Regions from separate parts of the Homo sapiens genome. Here regions 2 and 3 are each linked to region 1. Evidence: promoter capture Hi-C in 16 types of primary human blood cells and fetal thymus (Javierre and others, 2016). All regions are on one chromosome and are shown on one strand. Each heading gives the region's core, a stretch centred on a gene start or on the middle of the fragment in contact. The rest is flanking DNA. Distances are from core to core; before and after follow the strand shown.

The links. The method cuts DNA at HindIII sites, captures the fragments that hold promoters and counts their contacts. A CHiCAGO score of 5 or more calls a contact.
Region 2: a contact is called between a fragment that was not itself captured here and the fragment with the promoter of ZDHHC1 in region 1, in 1 of 17 cell types (M0 macrophages). The highest score is 5.5, in M0 macrophages.
Region 3: a contact is called between the fragment with the promoter of CES4A here and the fragment with the promoter of ZDHHC1 in region 1, in 12 of 17 cell types (activated CD4 T cells, erythroblasts, neutrophils and 9 more). The highest score is 13.4, in activated CD4 T cells.

What each region holds. Positions count from the first base shown.
Region 1 is chr16:67,414,231-67,419,331 of GRCh38, reverse strand. It overlaps ZDHHC1 (zDHHC palmitoyltransferase 1), which reads left to right and starts at 2,855. Exons shown (of 12, transcript NM_001323627.2): 1 at 2,855-3,161. It overlaps LOC124903702 (a long non-coding RNA gene), which reads right to left and starts at 3,429. Exons shown (of 2, transcript XR_007065093.1): 1 at 3,189-3,429. RefSeq lists an enhancer at 2,309-2,966 and a silencer at 2,799-3,188. The HindIII fragment of the contact is 9,596 bases long and covers 1-5,101 here.
Region 2 is chr16:66,936,696-66,941,796 of GRCh38, reverse strand. CES2 (carboxylesterase 2) reads right to left here. Exons shown (of 12, transcript NM_001365405.1): 2 at 3,556-3,760; 3 at 2,439-2,580; 4 at 1,442-1,575; 5 at 1,102-1,360; 6 at 575-673; 7 at 151-291; 8 at 1-29. Among named protein-coding and RNA genes, the nearest start is that of CES2, 3.7 kb to the right of the region's middle. RefSeq lists enhancers at 1-680, 740-1,239. The HindIII fragment of the contact is 939 bases long and covers 2,331-3,269 here.
Region 3 is chr16:66,985,862-66,990,962 of GRCh38, reverse strand. It overlaps CES4A (carboxylesterase 4A), which reads right to left and starts at 2,374. Exons shown (of 14, transcript NM_001364782.1): 1 at 2,133-2,374. The coding sequence starts at 2,190. The HindIII fragment of the contact is 37,432 bases long and covers 1-5,101 here.

The DNA of each region.
Region 1 (5,101 bases), core at 1,606-4,105:
CATCCAGGAGAGAAGCCCCTGAGTCAAGTGGATCCAGGGTCTTTTGGGTCCCTCCCCTTATTATGGGAATATATGGATTCATCTTTCACTTTGTTTTTTAATTTTTATTTGTATTTGCATTTATTTATTTATTTAAAGACAGAGTCTTGTTCTGTCGCCTGTAAGGAGTGCAATGGCACAATCTCGGCTCACTGCAACCTCTGCCTCCTGGGTTCAAGCGATCCTCCCATCTCAGCCTCCCGAGTAGCTGGGATTACAGGCGCAGACCACCATGCCCGGCCAATTTTTGTATTTTTGGTAGAGACAGGGTTTCGTCATGTTGCCCAGGCTGGTCTCAAACTCCTGACCTCTAGTGATCTGCCTGCCTCGGCCTCCCAAAGTGCTCAGATTACAGGTGTGAGCCACCATGCCCAGTCCCACCTTGTTTTTTAAAATATTTATTTATTTATTATTATTTTTTAAAGAGATAAAATCTGACCGGGCACAGTGGCTCATGCCTGCAATCCCATGGTGGCAGGCAACTGTAATCCCAGCTACTCGGGAGGTTGAGGCAGGGGAATCGCCTGAACCCGGGAGGTGGAAGCTGCAGTCAACTGAGATCGCACCACTGCACTCCAGCCTGGGAGACAGAGCGAGACTCCGTCTCAAAAAAAAAAAAAAAAGAGAGAGAGAGAGAGATAAGATTTTTTTTGTGTGTGACAGAGTCTCACTCTGTCACTCAGGCTGGAGTAGAGTGGTGCGATCTCGGGTCACTGCAACCTCTGCCTCCTGGGTTCAAGCCATTCTCTTGCCTCAGCCTCCCGAGTAGCTGGGACTACAGGCACATGCCATCACGCCTGGCTTACTTTGTACTTTTAGTGGAGATGGGGTTTCACCGTGTTAGCCAGGATGGTCTCGATCTCCTGACCTCATGATCCACCTGCCTTGGCCTCCCAAAGTGTTGGGATTACAGGTGTGAGCCACTGAGACCAGCTGAGAGATAAGATCTTACTTTCACCCAGGCTGGAGTGCAGTGGCATGATCGTAATTCACTGCAATCTTGAACTCCCGAACTCAAGTGATTCTTTTCTCCTGCCCCAGCCTCGTGAGTAGCTGGGACTATAGGCACAGGCCACCAGGCCCAGCTATTTTTTTTCATCTTTTGTAGAGATGGGAGTCTCTCTATGTATCCCAGGCTGGTCTCAAACTCCTGGCTTCAAGTGATTTTCCTGCCTCAGCCTCCTTAAAGTGCTGGGATTACAGGTGTGAGCCACTGCATCCAGCCTCATCCTTCACCTTGATTTCTGGGTCATGATCTCTGTTTGACCCGAAGTTTTCCAATTCCAGATAAGAGTTAAGTAGTCAGCTTGTACTCTGAAGCCAGAATAGCATTGATATTTATCTCACATTGAGTTTGAGTTTATCAGTCTTGAAAACAAGAATTTAAGTAATAGGTTATGTCACTTGCACAAGGACCCACACACCTGTCATGTGACAGAGAAGGAGTAGTTATGTTGCCTAATAAAACATACAATAAGTATGCTTGTGACTTATACATTTTAGAGATAAGGATGTTTTCTTTCCCTATCTGTCATATCTGCCTTGGAGATGCGCACAGGACAGATAGCAGAAGACAAAGTGTCTTCCTGTCTTTTGAGAAAGCCTGAGCTCATAGAAGATTCCATTCTGAGTGTCCACAAGGAGAAGAGGAGAGGGGACTTTTAGGGAAACCAAGTTAGCAGGGAAGTCTCCCAGGTAGAGAAAGGGAAGGGAGGCTGCAGGCCATGGAGCAGAGGAAGCAGGTGTCTGTCCCTGGCAGCCCCAGGGAGAGGCAGGGGCCTCAGGCAGGGATGGCCTCATAGAGCCCAAACCTGAAAATCTTTGTGGACTGGAGCAATGGTTGTGGCCTCAGTACCAGACAAAACCCTGACCAGAGAGTTTTTTGCTTATTTGTTTTTGATTGTTGTTTTTTGCTATAGGAAAACATGAGTCCTTTGGAATTACCTAGCTAAAAGGAGTACAGTGGAGACTGAGACTGAATTTCCCGGCCGGGCAGGGGCTCACGCCTGTAATCCTAGCACTTTTGGAGGCTGAGGTGGGCGGGTCGCTTGAGTTCAGGAGTTCGAAACCAGCCTGGGCAACATGGCAAAACCACGCCTCTACAAAAAAATGCGAAAATTAGTCGGGCGTGGTGGTGTTCGCCTGTAGTCCTAGCTACTCTGGAGGCTGAGGCGGGAGGATCGCCTGAGCCCAGGAGTTCGAGGCTGCAGAGAGCCGTGATCGTGCCACTGCACTCCAGCCTGGGTAACAGAGACCAGTTTAAAAAATAGAAAAAGACTGAATTTCCCATCAGCCTGGAAGATTGGGGCTTGATTTTTGCTTGATTTAAAGGCAATAAATAAATGAGATATTTTGTGCTGCTTATTTTAAGCTCTTACGCTTCTCGCTTTATATTCTGGGGTACCTGCATTTTTAGTGGTGTAATTTATTTGTCTAGATCTGTTTGCCTCTTAACCTGTAAGCTCCCGGAAGGGTCGGGATATCATGGATGTTCCAGCACATACGCTCATTGAAGTGTGCAGGTTGACTGGGGTTGGGGGAGGTCTCTTCTTGAGAGCGGTGGTCTCAGGATAGAAACTGGAAGGGGGCGCTTTTGAGATGTTAGGATTTCGGGGAGACAAGCTGTGACTCGGGAGTAGGGAAAAGCGGATTTTCTAGACGAAAGGTTAGGAAGAATCTGGGAATGGGCCGACTGGGGCACCAAGAGGGTCCCTGGCAAGCCCCGCCCTGGCCGGGGGACCGGCGCGGAGTGACGCAGCGCGGTTTGGCCGCTGTGGGGCGCCGTAGCCCGCGCCGTTGTCAGGGGAACGGGCCCAGCGCCGGACGAGGCCCAGCCAGTCTGGGTCTGGCCTGGCCGCCCCTCCAGCCTGCTGGAGCCGGAGCCGGAGCCGGAGCCGGAGCCGGAGCCGGAGCCAGAGCCAGAGCTCGAGGACTCACCGGCCCAGTCTCCGTCCGGGATGGGGCCCCGCTCCCGGGCGCGTTGCCGCCCAGTCCCGGGGACCGTCCCTACCGCGAGGGTCTGAGGCGCGGCTGCCCCGGGGAGGGTGGAAGGCCAGGCGTGGGGCCCGAACCTCTGGCTGACTTTGGCAGGGCCCATCTGGCACGGCCTCCGCGGCGCGCAGGTGAGGAGTCCCCGCCCGGTTTCTCACCTCGGAGCCTGGCTTGAGCCACGGGGTAGCGGATGCTGCCGCCTGGCCGGCTTTGGGCTCGCTTCCGCCTGGAGCCGGTGGCCTGAGTTCCAGGGCCCCGGCAGAGCGCGGGGCTTCCTTTTAGCATGCATCAAGTTCACAGATCTTCCTTGAGCGCTTACTCTTTGCCAGGCTCTGTGCCAGGCGTGGGCACAGAGGACTCCCAACAGACGTGGTCTGTCTCCAGAACCCAGAGCATTAAGGAAGGGGGCTGGGAAGCGGATGTCATACATGACTAAAGTGATTTCAGGTCGGGTTAGGCTCTCTGGTATTGAAATGGAGGGGTTGGTCATGGAGGGTCTGTTTTAAAAGGAAACCATGGGAAGAGTTTTAGTTTTTTCTTTGAGACGGAGTTTCGCTCTTGTCACCCAGGCTGGATGGAGCGCAGTGGCACGACTCGGGTCATTGCAACCTCCGCCTCCCGGGTTCAAGCCATTCTGCTGCCTCAGCCTCTGGAGTAGCTGGGATTACAGGCGCCCGCCGCCACGCCCGGCTAAGTTTTATATTTTTAGTAGGGACGGGGTTTCACCATGTTGGCCAGGCTGTTCTCGAACTCCTGACCTCAGGTGATCCACCCGCCTCGGCCTCCGAAAGCGTTGGGATTACAGGTGTGAGCCACCGTTCCCAGCCAATTTTTTATTTTTTTGAGACAAGGTCTCCCTTTGTCACCCAGGCTGGAGTGCTGTGGTGTGAACATGGGTCACCGCAGGCTCCGGCTCCCGGGCTCAAGCGATCCTCCCGCCTCAGCCTCCCAAGTAGCTGAGACTACAGATACCCGCCACCACGCTCAGCTAATTTTTTAAGGTTTTGGTAGAGATGAGGTCTTACTATTTTGCCCAGGCTGGTCTCGAGCTCCTGGTCTCAAGGGATCCTCTTGCCTCAGCCTCCCAAAGTGCTGGGATTACAGGTGTGAGCCACTGCAAGCGGCAGAAGAGTTTTTTATTTTTTGTTTATTTTTATTTTTATTTTCCAGATGGAGTCTCGCTCTGTCACCCAGGCTGGACTGCAATGGCACAATCTCGGCTCACTGCAACCTCCACCTCCCGGGTTCAAGCGATTCTCCTGCCTCAGCCCCCCAAGTCTGGGATTACAGGCGCCTGCCACCACACCCAGCTAATTTTTGTATTTTTAGTAGAAACGGGGTTTCAACATGTTGGCCAGGCTGGTCTTGAACTCCTGACCTCAGGTGATCCAGCCACCTTGGCCTCCCAAAGAAGAGTTTGGATGAGTTTCACGTTTGAAAAGCTCACTTCACTCTGGCTGCTGAGCAGCATGGTTGTGACAGACATACCGGGAAGTCAGTTGAGGGCCATCCTAGTTCTGCCAATCTAGCTGTGCCTCCTAAAATAACTCATTTAGTGTCTCTGAGCCTCAGTGTCCTCATGATGGGAGTGGGTGTTCTGTATGTTTTTTATGAGGAAGTGAGAGGCCAGTCACATCTGAAATCAGTGACTACAGGGATCTACAAGAACAGTTGGAAATGATAGGACCTTCCTTAGAGCTCTATGAGGATTGAATGAGTGAATTCCACTGAAACAGTGCCTGGCACAGAATAAGTGCATTCTAAATGCTGGTGTTGGTTATTATCATGCAAACACTGTAGGAGAGCGATGCTGGAGGTTTGGATTGGGGTAATGACAGCAGAGATGGTAAAAAAGTGGCTTGACTTCCTTTACTGAAAGAGAGCTGGGTTCAGACACGGGTGAGGGGTGGTCTCTGCTTTTGTGGAACTGGTGGTTCACTGTGGGAGACGGGTTTGTAAACAGATAATCACCATGAGATGCAGTAAAAGCAACAGTGGTGCTTAATTAGCCAGATTGTTTTGTTTTGTTTTTGTTTTTCTTTCTTTGTTCTGTCACAACGTTGTTTTTAAT
Region 2 (5,101 bases), core at 1,551-4,050, 480 kb after region 1:
TCCTTCTGGGTATCATAGATCCTCATGACCTGGATGGCCAGGAGAGAGTCTGTAGCTGGGGATGGGATGAGCCTGGAGCTATGAAGCCCTGAACACCCCCCACTACCAGATGGGCTCCCCAGGCACTTGTGGGCTTGGGTTGGGGCTCACCTTGGGGATGAGCCAGCCGAATTCATTGTTGTTGACACCAACAATGCTAGGGACAGGCTGAAAGTCGGCAGAGGCCAGCAGCTCCTGGGGGTGCCTGGGCAGGAAGACCCCATCCACCACTCCGGGGATCATCTTGAAAGGCTGAGGGGAAATGTAAGGTCAGGGAACAAGGTCAGGTCCCAGACATCTTCCGATGCCCTCTGAGTACCTTCCACTCCTTCCCAGTTTATCCCTGGATGCTCATACCCACCCCAGGAGATTACTGTTTGGCTCAGCATGCACCGACCTTCAGTCCCGACCCAGGGCTATGACACTCAGGCATGCAGATGAGGTAATGTGCCCAGGGAATATGACGGCCGTGCAGGCCTGCCAGCCCCATGCCTATTGCACCCCTTCCTCTACACCCACATCCATTTAGACCAACCTTGTTAATTGCAAGAATCTCCTCTTTACTCTTGCCCCGCAGGCAGCCCACCAGGGCCTCAGAGTCAACTTGGTCACAGGCAGACAGGTTGGCCACCACCTGTAAAGGGACCAGGCAGGGGCTGGCTCATCCTTCCAGGTAGAGGAGAGGAGTTTGCCCAAGGCCCTGGCCAAGAACAGGGGTACCCCAAATCTCAGAGGGTACTTCGTATGAGTTCCTGCAGTTCTGACACTGTTCCAACTCAGAAGTCCCAGACACAGGGGCCATCCCATCCGCCTAGATGATTCTCCTCATGGTGGGGATCCCTAGGGTGACAACTTTGCACAGGAGCCACAGAACAAGCTCGGCCTCTGCAATGGCAGAAGGATGTGAATTCTGACCCTGGAGCCCCCCAGCAATTCCACGGTAGGCAGCAGCTCCTGGAGCATGCTCCCGATGGCCCTTGTCATCCCCGTTTAACAGACAGAGGCTCTGAGGGATATGAGGGGAGGGAGCAGGCCTAGGCCTCTTCAGCTGAGGGCACTCACCGTGGAGATGACATCAGCTGAGCTGGCAATGAGGCCGGGCAGGAGGGCCACGCCACTCTCCATGATGGCTCCGTGGAAGAGTCCTTGGGATATGGGGGACACAACAAGCGAAGACACACTCGTGCCACCCGCAGACTCGCCAAAAATGGTGACACGGTCAGGGTTGCCTCCAAAGTGGGCGATATTCTGCTGGACCCAGCGTAGTGCAGCCACTTGGTCCAGGTAGCCCCAGTTGCCGGTTGCGTGCTTGTCTCCAGTGCTGAGAAGTAGCAGGGACAGGGATCACAGGGCTGTCCTGGCCCCGCTCAGCCCGGGTTGCCCAGCCCAGCCCTAGTCTCACCTGAAGAAGCCCAGGACACCCAGGCGGTACTGGATGATGACCACCACCACGTTCTCCAAGGCAGCCAGCATGGAACCATCATACAAGGAAGCCATGCCAAAAACAAGCGCACCACCGTGGATCCACACCATCACCTGGGGAAATCAAGGCAGCTACCATGATGCTCCCACCCAGCCCAAACCCCACCAGGGCCACTACCTAGACCAACCAGTGCTTTGCCTCTGTCTACCTCCCCATTAGATCTCCAGCACAAATTCATTACATGGGCAAATGGTTAGGCACCCAAGATCTATCAGGAAGACCAGGCCTCCCAATCTTTGCAATCGAACCCCCTGTATCAAAGCCTGGGTTCATTAACCCCAGATAATTCACCAAAGTGGAAAGAAAAGGGGTGTCTCCCTGATGGCTCCACATGAACATTAACCAAAAATGTCCTTAGCCTGAACCACATAGTGAGACCCCGTTTCAACAGAAAATGTTTTAAAAATGAGCCAGGCATGGTGGAATAGGCCAGTAGTCCCAGCTACTCGGGAGGCTAATCTGAGAGGATCATCCCGGATTTCGAGGTTACAGAGAGGTATGTTCATGCCACTGCATTTTAGCCTGGGCAACAGAGCATGATGCCATCTCTAAGAAAAAAAGTTTTTGTGTGTGCCCATTCTATAGGCCCAACAGATTATCCATGGCTGGGGTTCTTGGTCACCTCAAGGTGCAGCCCTTTGGCACTTAAGTGGATCTCCTGGCATGAGTTGGCTGAGTGAGTCCTGGGTCCAGCCCAGAGCCACAGCCTTTGACCTCTGGGAGCAGCCAGAACTCTGTGACCCCATGTCCAGGGGCCAGCTGCCCAGTCTGGGTAAGGAGCATTTCTTGGACCTGACAGTGAGAAGCTTCTCAGCATGGTCCACTCTGAAGCAGGGCCTGAGCTAATATTGTCCTTTTCAGCTTCTTGCAGAAGAACTGTCCTCCAACCCCCAGTGAACTGTGGCCTGACACCCACCGGCAGGTTAGAGCCTTCATGGCTATGGGCCGGCGTGTAGATGCTGAGGTACAGGCAGTCCTCAGACATGGAGTCGGAAGGGAAGGTCATGTTGAACTGGCTAAGAAACTCTGACTCCACTGCGGTGAGGTCCTGTAGACACCTGGTAACCAGGGCAAATAATCAGTCCAGGGGCCAGGCTGTGGCCAAAACCAGACCCTGGGTTCAGAGGTGCTCCCAGCCACCCTCAGACCCTTCCCACAATATCCTGCTCACACATGATCCCTCTCAAAAATCCCTTCCCACCAAGTTACAGGCCACAGGCTCTGGGGAAGCTGGGATGCAGCTTGGACTTCCAGGGAGGCCTCGAGGTTACTGAGGACCTTGGGTATCATTCCTCGCACTGCCGGAAACCTTGACTCTTAGGGGTTTCTATGAGAACCATTGGCTGCATGTGTTGACATTCACCACTATATTCCTGTAACCCGTAAGGCCTGGGACAGGGGAGTAGCCCACATATGTGTGCTACATGAGTGAATGGATGTTAATTTCTCATGAGAAGGGCAGTGGGATGTCTCTCATCCCAAGTCTAAACTCTCAAAAACTCATCATTCCTACATGGCCTCCAGTTGGAAACATATACATATACATATACATGTCTCTTGGCCAATGGCTCCTGGTCCTGTCAGTGGACACAGTGCCTGTGGAGAGTGCAGGTCCCCAGAAAGCTACCACTACTGTTCTCTTCAGGTATTTGCAACATCTGCCACTAGAGTTAGGGGCTCCTACAAGGTTCATAGAGCCAACCCGAACCTTTCCCAGAGACACCTGCCACTGGTGGCAGAGAAAGCTTGGCATAACCAGAATCTGGGGAGATACGTGTGTCTGCCCCTCCCTTCGGCACCTGGAGCCAATGTCTTCTGAATGCCAAGCCCTGATCCAGGAGTCTGAGAAGTTATTCTGCCCTCCTGAGCCTCAGCATGCTCATTGGAAAAATGCACGTGGGAATCCACGAAACTCAGAAGGAAAACTGGCTGTGGGGGTTTAGATGAAATGATAACTGCAGCCTAGCTGAGCTCAGAGCACCCCCACCCCTGCCCCAGGGCCTGGAGTTCCCTGGACCCCTTGGAGAGCTTACATGGCCGGATGGGTGGTTCCATCCCTCACACCACTCCAAGATTCAGGGGGCTCAGGGGGTGCAAATCGCAGCGGACCTAGAGGTGGCTTGGCAAATGGAATTCCCAGGAAGGTTTGGACCCCGGCATTGGCGCCCTTCACATGGACAAGACTCCCCAGCACCTGCCCCGTGTGTGTGGTCCGGATGGGACTGGCTGAGTCCTGGCCTGTGGGCAGAGAGACAGACATCACGGTTGGGTTTGACCAATCGACTGCCCTCCCAACTGTTGGTATTGCTGCTTCCTTGCCATCCTCATCTTAGCTCAAGGGACTCTGATCTGTAAACATGGGCTTTACAAACTTCCTGCCTGTAACACTCCCTTCCCGCTCTGGCTTCCTGGGCCTGTCTCCATCCCACCAGGCTGAGGCTCCTTGGGGCCAGGCATCATCATTCAGCCCTAGGACCTTCAAACAAAGGGTCACATGCCCTTGATGGGACTAGAGTGTCCTTCAACTGTGTGCCAGGTCATGTGACAGTAGGATGATGGTGGGAATTGGGCAGGCAAGTTTCTTGTCCTCAGGGATGTCATGTCCAAAGTGGCAAGAAATCATGTAAAGAAAGCATCATCCAAACCATGAGTGATGTTGGTGAAAAGAGGTGCAAGAGAAAAGTATGGCTGTGGCTGGGATATAAAAAGCACAGTGACTGGCCTGGGGACCATAGTGGGACTCTGTCTCTGCAAAAAAATCAGGAAATAAATTGGCGGGGTGTGGTGGTGCATGCCTGTAGTCCCAGCTGTAGAAAAGCCTGGCTCCAGAAAGTGGGTGAGTTTATGACTGTTTAGATGAAAATCAAGGACAAGTGCACACATCTATTCTTGTGTAAACTGCTGGGCACTGTGTGTACTGCGGTGTCAACAAGCAGTTTCCAGTGTGGGCCATGGGGACTTTGATGGCCCCTGAGGAGAAGCCAGGACTGGTTGGGTAAAAAGAGGATGGCACACATCACCTGTACCCTCCTATGGCTTGTCAATTATTTTTTCTGAATGTGGGTCCAACCCAAAATTTTGTATACATATATATTTGTCAGACAAGGTCGCCATCTGTTGCCCAGGCTGGAATGCAGTAATATGATAACAGCTCACTGCAGCCTCCACCTCCTGGGCTTGAGATCCTCCCGCCACAGCCTCCTGAGTAGCTTGGAGTACAGCTGTCTGCCACCATGCTTGACTTTTTTTTTTTTTTTTTTTGGTAGAGACAAGTCTTGTTGCCCAAGCTGGTCTCTAACTCCTAGCCTCAAGTGATCCTCCCATCTCTGCCTCTCAAAGTGCTGGGATAACAGGTGTGAGCCACTGTGCCTGGCCCAAAATATTTTAAAAGGTAGCCATCTGTGAGGCCAGGCAGATCTTCCTGCTGGGCTCCTGGTGAACTCTAGAATGTGGTCAAGGGCAGGCACGGGAGGAAGCCCTGCAGCAGTGCACCATGGGGCGGGGGGAGTATGGACTCCACCTGCGCAAATTAAATTGGGGAAGGGTTGGAAGAGACAGATCATACACTTAGGAGAGTTT
Region 3 (5,101 bases), core at 1,125-3,624, 430 kb after region 1:
CTGGGTCTCTCCCCTGTGAAAATAGTCAGAAACACATGAAAACAAAGACCTTTCTGAACTAAATTTATCTATACCATAGTGAATACTGGAAGCATCATTTATATCTGGGGACCAAGCAAGGCCAATGTAACTACAGACTCAAACTTTAAACTGCTTTTGGTAATAACTTAAATTAAAAAAAAAAAGAAAAACCCCAGAATATAAAATTGTGTTTATTCATTCATTCTTTCTTTTCTTTTCTTTCCCTTATTTTTTTCTTTTTTTGAGACAAGGTCTCCCTCTGTTGCCCAGGCTGGAAGGCAGTGGCATGATCATAGCTCACTACAGCCTCCACCTCCCAAACTCAAGTGAGCCTCTCACTTCAGCCTCTCGAGCAGTTGGGACTGCAGGCATGCACCACACCATGCTTGGCTAATTTTTAAATTTTTTGTTCAGATGGGCTCTAGTTATGTTGCCCAGGCTGGTCTTGAACTCCTGAGCTTAAGCAATCCTCCCACATCAGACTCCCAAAATGCTGGGATTATAGACATGAGCCACCCCATTTGGCTTAAAATTGTGTACATTCTAATAGTACAGCTATAGATAAATACACAATGAAAAGGTGAAAAGAGGTTGGGCATGGTGGCTCATGCCTGCGGTCCCAGCACTTTGGGAGGCCGAGGCAGGTGGATCATCTCAGGTCAGAATTTCGAGACCTGCCTGGCCAGCATGGCGAAACCCCATCTCCACTAAAAAAATACAAAAATTAGCTGGGCTTGTGGTGTACGCCTGTAGTCCCAGCTACTTGGGAGGCTGAGGTGGGGAGAATTGCTTGAACCCGGGAGGTGGAGGTTGCGGTGAGCGGAGATGGCACCATTGCACACCAGTCTGGGTGACAGGGCGAGACTCCGTCTCAAAAAAAAAAAAAAAAAAAAAGAAAAGATGAAAAGAAAATGCGCCAAAATGTTAAAAGCGGAGTAAGCAAAGTTTCCTTCAAATTTAAAATAATGGATATATGTATATATGGGCAAAATTTATTTATGATAGAGGTCAGACTAGTGGTAACTTTGAGTATTGACTGAGAAGGAGTACATGGGACGCTGGAGATGGTTTTTTGTTTTTTTTTTTGAGATAGAGTTTCGCTCTTGTTGCCCAGGCTGGAGTGCAATGGCACGATCTCGGCTCACTACAACCTCTGCCTCCTGGCTTCAAGCGATTCTCCTGCCTCAGCCTCCTGAGTAGCTGGGATTACAGGCATGTGCCACCATGCCTGGCTAGTTTTGTATTTTTAGTAGAGACGGGGTAATAATATTGGTTAGGCTGGTCTCAAACTCCTGACCTCAGGTGATCTGCCCGCTTCGGCCTCCCAAAGTGCTGGGATTACAGGTGTATCCTTGTAAGTTAAAAAAACTTTTTAAAAAATGTTTTTTAAAAATAGAGACAGAGTCTATTTACCCAGGCTAGGTCTCACTATTTGCCCAGGCTGGTCTCAAACTCCTGGGCTCAAGTAATCCTCCCACCTCAGCCTCTCAAAGTGCTGGAATTACAGGCATGAGCTACCATGCCTAACCCACTGGAAATGTTCTAGATGTTGATCTGGATAATGGTTACCATATATATATATATAATAATTAGTATAATAGATATAATTATACAGTGAAGATGTGTGCACCTTGCTGTATACATCTTATACCTCAGTAAACTTTTGTTAATGTATTAGATTGTTTTCACAGTAAAAAGTGTAGTACTCATTTTAAAAAGAAAGATATTGGGGAGAAATTTGAAGGTGGTAAAGAGGTTCATGTAGCAGAGAGGGGGCAGAGACAGGCCTCCTGCTTAGGAGAAGGAAAGAAGGATGGAAGGAAGGAAAAAGGTGGGAAGGAAGAAAAGATGTGGCCATGTTCTCAGACCCCTTCACCTGTGCCGGGAGGCAGGAAATACAGAGAAGCCCTGAGGTTCAGGGAGGCTAAAGGACTTGTCCAGACTCCCAGCTGGTAGATGGTTTAGTGTCCTGAAACCCTACCCTCCATTTGCCCAGGCCTTGTCTAAGTGCTCCTGCCCTGCTGTCCCCAGGAGAGGTTGAACTGGGGCCTGTCCCTCCATCCCTTGTGCCCGTCTTGCCTGACACTCTCGGGAAGGGGTGGGGGTCTTACCCAAGGCCGTCTGCGCCATCAGGCAGAGGGTGAGGCTCCAGCACAGAATCCACCTCATGCTCCAGCCAGCTCCTGCTGTGGGCAGGAGTGATGGCAACACTGTGGATGGCAACACTGTGGATGGCATGGTAGCCGTGTCTACAGTGTGTGAGCACACTTTTATCTGCTCTTAATCCCTGCCAGCAAGTACTGGGGCGGGAGGAATTGTAACCAGCTTCTGACCAGCCCACAGCCTTGTCTCTGCCTTGGGCAACAGGTCACGCTAGATGATCTTGGCTCTTCAAACTGATCAGCCTGCAATCTCCGCCCCGTTTGCTCATCTGTGCAGTGGCTTAAAGCTGAACATGTGTGAGTCAAGGTCTAAGCATACAGTGGGTGCCAAGATTGAAGTAGAACACCTGGTTACTTGGCCCTTCAGCCAGGGCTTCCTGTCTGTGGATTTAAGGGTCTTGGGCCTCCCTGCTCCCCAGTGCCTCGTCTAGCCTCTTCCCTGCCTTTCCTCGCACATGCTGACCCTTGGCTGTCCTCACAGTTTCATAGTCCACATGCGGAAGCTGGACCTGAAAGCAACCGTAATGTGGGAGCCCAGAGGGGCACCCGAGGAGTGAGCCCAGAGCCGGGTGGTGGGAATGAAGATTCCCTGGAAAAGATCTAATCTTCTAAGTAAAGGATGAGGAGGAGTGGGCCAGGCAAAGAAAGATCCTGTTTGAAGTTTGGAGCCACAGGAGCAAGTGTGGGAGGTGGAAGCAAGGAGACAGCAGTCCCATCTTCAGTCAAAGGTAAGATGGGGCTGGGTGTGGTGGCTCATGCCTGTAATACCAGCACTTTGGAAGGCTGAGGCAGGTGGATCACCTGAGGTCAGGAGTTCGAGACCAGCCTGGCCAACATGGTGAAACCCCGTCTCTACTAAAACAAAGAATACAAAAATTAGCTGGGCGTGGTAGTGTGTGCCTGTAGTCCCAGCTACTCAGGAGGCTGAGGCAGGAGGATGGCTTGAACCTGGGAGGCGGAGGTTGTAGTGAGCCGAGATCGGGCCACTGCACTCCAGCCTGGGTGACAGAGTGAGACCCTGTCTCAAAAATAAATAGGCCAGGCACGGTGGCTCATGCCTGTAATCCCAACACTTTGGGAGGCTGAGGCAGGCGGGTCACGAGGTCAGAAGATCGAGACCATCCTGGCTAACACCCCGTCCCTACTAAAAATACAAAAAATTATCCGGGCGTGGTGGCACGCGCCCGTAGTTCCAGCTACTCAGGAGGCTGAGGCAAGAGAATTGCTTGAAACCAGGAGGCGGAGCTTGCAGTGAGCCAAGATGGCGTCACTGTACTCCAGCCTGGGCGACAGAGTGAGACTCCATCTCAAAGAACAAAAAAAAGGTAAGATGTTTCCTCTCTCGTGTACCCCCAAAGTCTGGGGTCCTGGCCCATCTTTGTGAAAAGAGGGTCTGTTGGGCTTCTGTGCTGGGGAGGGGAAAAGGCAGGGGAACAGAGAACTTCTCCCTTGGCCCACAGCCTCTTGCTCTATAGGCCTGACAGATGGTTAAACCTCCTTCTTTCACAGTCAATTTTCTGAGTTCTTCGGAGATGCTCTTTATTTGGGACTCCTCTCCCACAGTTCCCATCCTTGTGACCCTTCCTCAGTCCCAAGGAATGTGGCATTCACTGCCCAATCATTGCTGCCTGGGCTCTGTGCTCCTCTAATGAAGGCCCAAGATGACCCCCCACCCCTGCCTCTGCCACTTATCCTGTGGGGTCTACATGGGCAAACCTCCAATATCCCTTGCCCCACCTCAGCAGAGGTGTGGCCCATCCCATTGCAGCCCCTTCTGCCCCACTCACGATGGCGGGGTGGAGTCAGGCTCTGGCTGGCTGAGCCTCCTATGGTGGAAAGCACCACTCATCTTCCCCATGGTCTCATGCCCACAGGCTTGAGGGGAAAGAAGTGGGGTGAGAACTCACAGCGAGGTAACAGGTCTCTACAAAGAAAATCTCTCCCCTAACTCCTCCCCAGCATAACGTGTTAACTTGTGGTGGCTCACGCCTGTAATCTCAGCACTTTAGGAGGCCAAGGCAGGAGGACCGCTTAAGGCCAGGAGTTCAAGGCCAGCCTGGACAACATAGTGAGACCCTGTCTTTACAAAAAATTAAAAAGTCAGCCAGATGTGCTGGTACATGCCTGCAGACCCAGCTACTTGGGAGGCTGAGGCAGCAGGATCAATTGAGCCCAGGCGGTCAAGACAGAGTAAGACTCTGTCTCTAACCAAAATACCCCGAAACAAAAAACAAAAAACAAGACCCACTTTTATTATTTATTTATTTTTTTGAGACAGAGTCTCACTCTGTCGCCCAGGCTGGAGTACAGTGGCGCCACCTCAGCTCACTGCAAGCTCTGCCTCCCAGTTTCAAGCAATTCTCTTGCCTCAGCCTCCTGAGTAGCTGGGACTACGGGCGCATGCCACCACGCCCAGATAATTTTTTGTATTTTTAGTAGAGACAGGGTTTCATCATGTTAGCCAGGATGGTCTCAATCTTCTGACCTCGTGATCCGCCTGCCTCGGCCTCCCAAAGTGTTGGGATTACAGGCAACAGCCACTGTGCCTGGCCTATTTATTTATTTTTGAGACAGGGTCTCACTCTGTTGCCCAGGCTGGAGTGCAGTGGCCCGATCTCGGCTCACTGCAACCTCTGCCTCCTGGGTTCAAGCGATTCTCCTGCTTCAGCCTCCCAAGTAGCTGGGACTACATGCCTGTGCCACCACCCCCAGCTAATTTTTGTATTTTTAGTAAAGACGGGGTTTCACTGTGTTGGCCAGTCTGGTCTTGAACGCCTGATCTCAAGTGATCCACCTGCCTCAGCCTCACAAAGTGCTGGGATTACAGGCGTGAGCCACCACGCCCGGCCACATATTTTCCATATTTATTTATGTATTTATTTTTTGAGATGGAGTTTCACTCATGTTGCCTAGGCCGG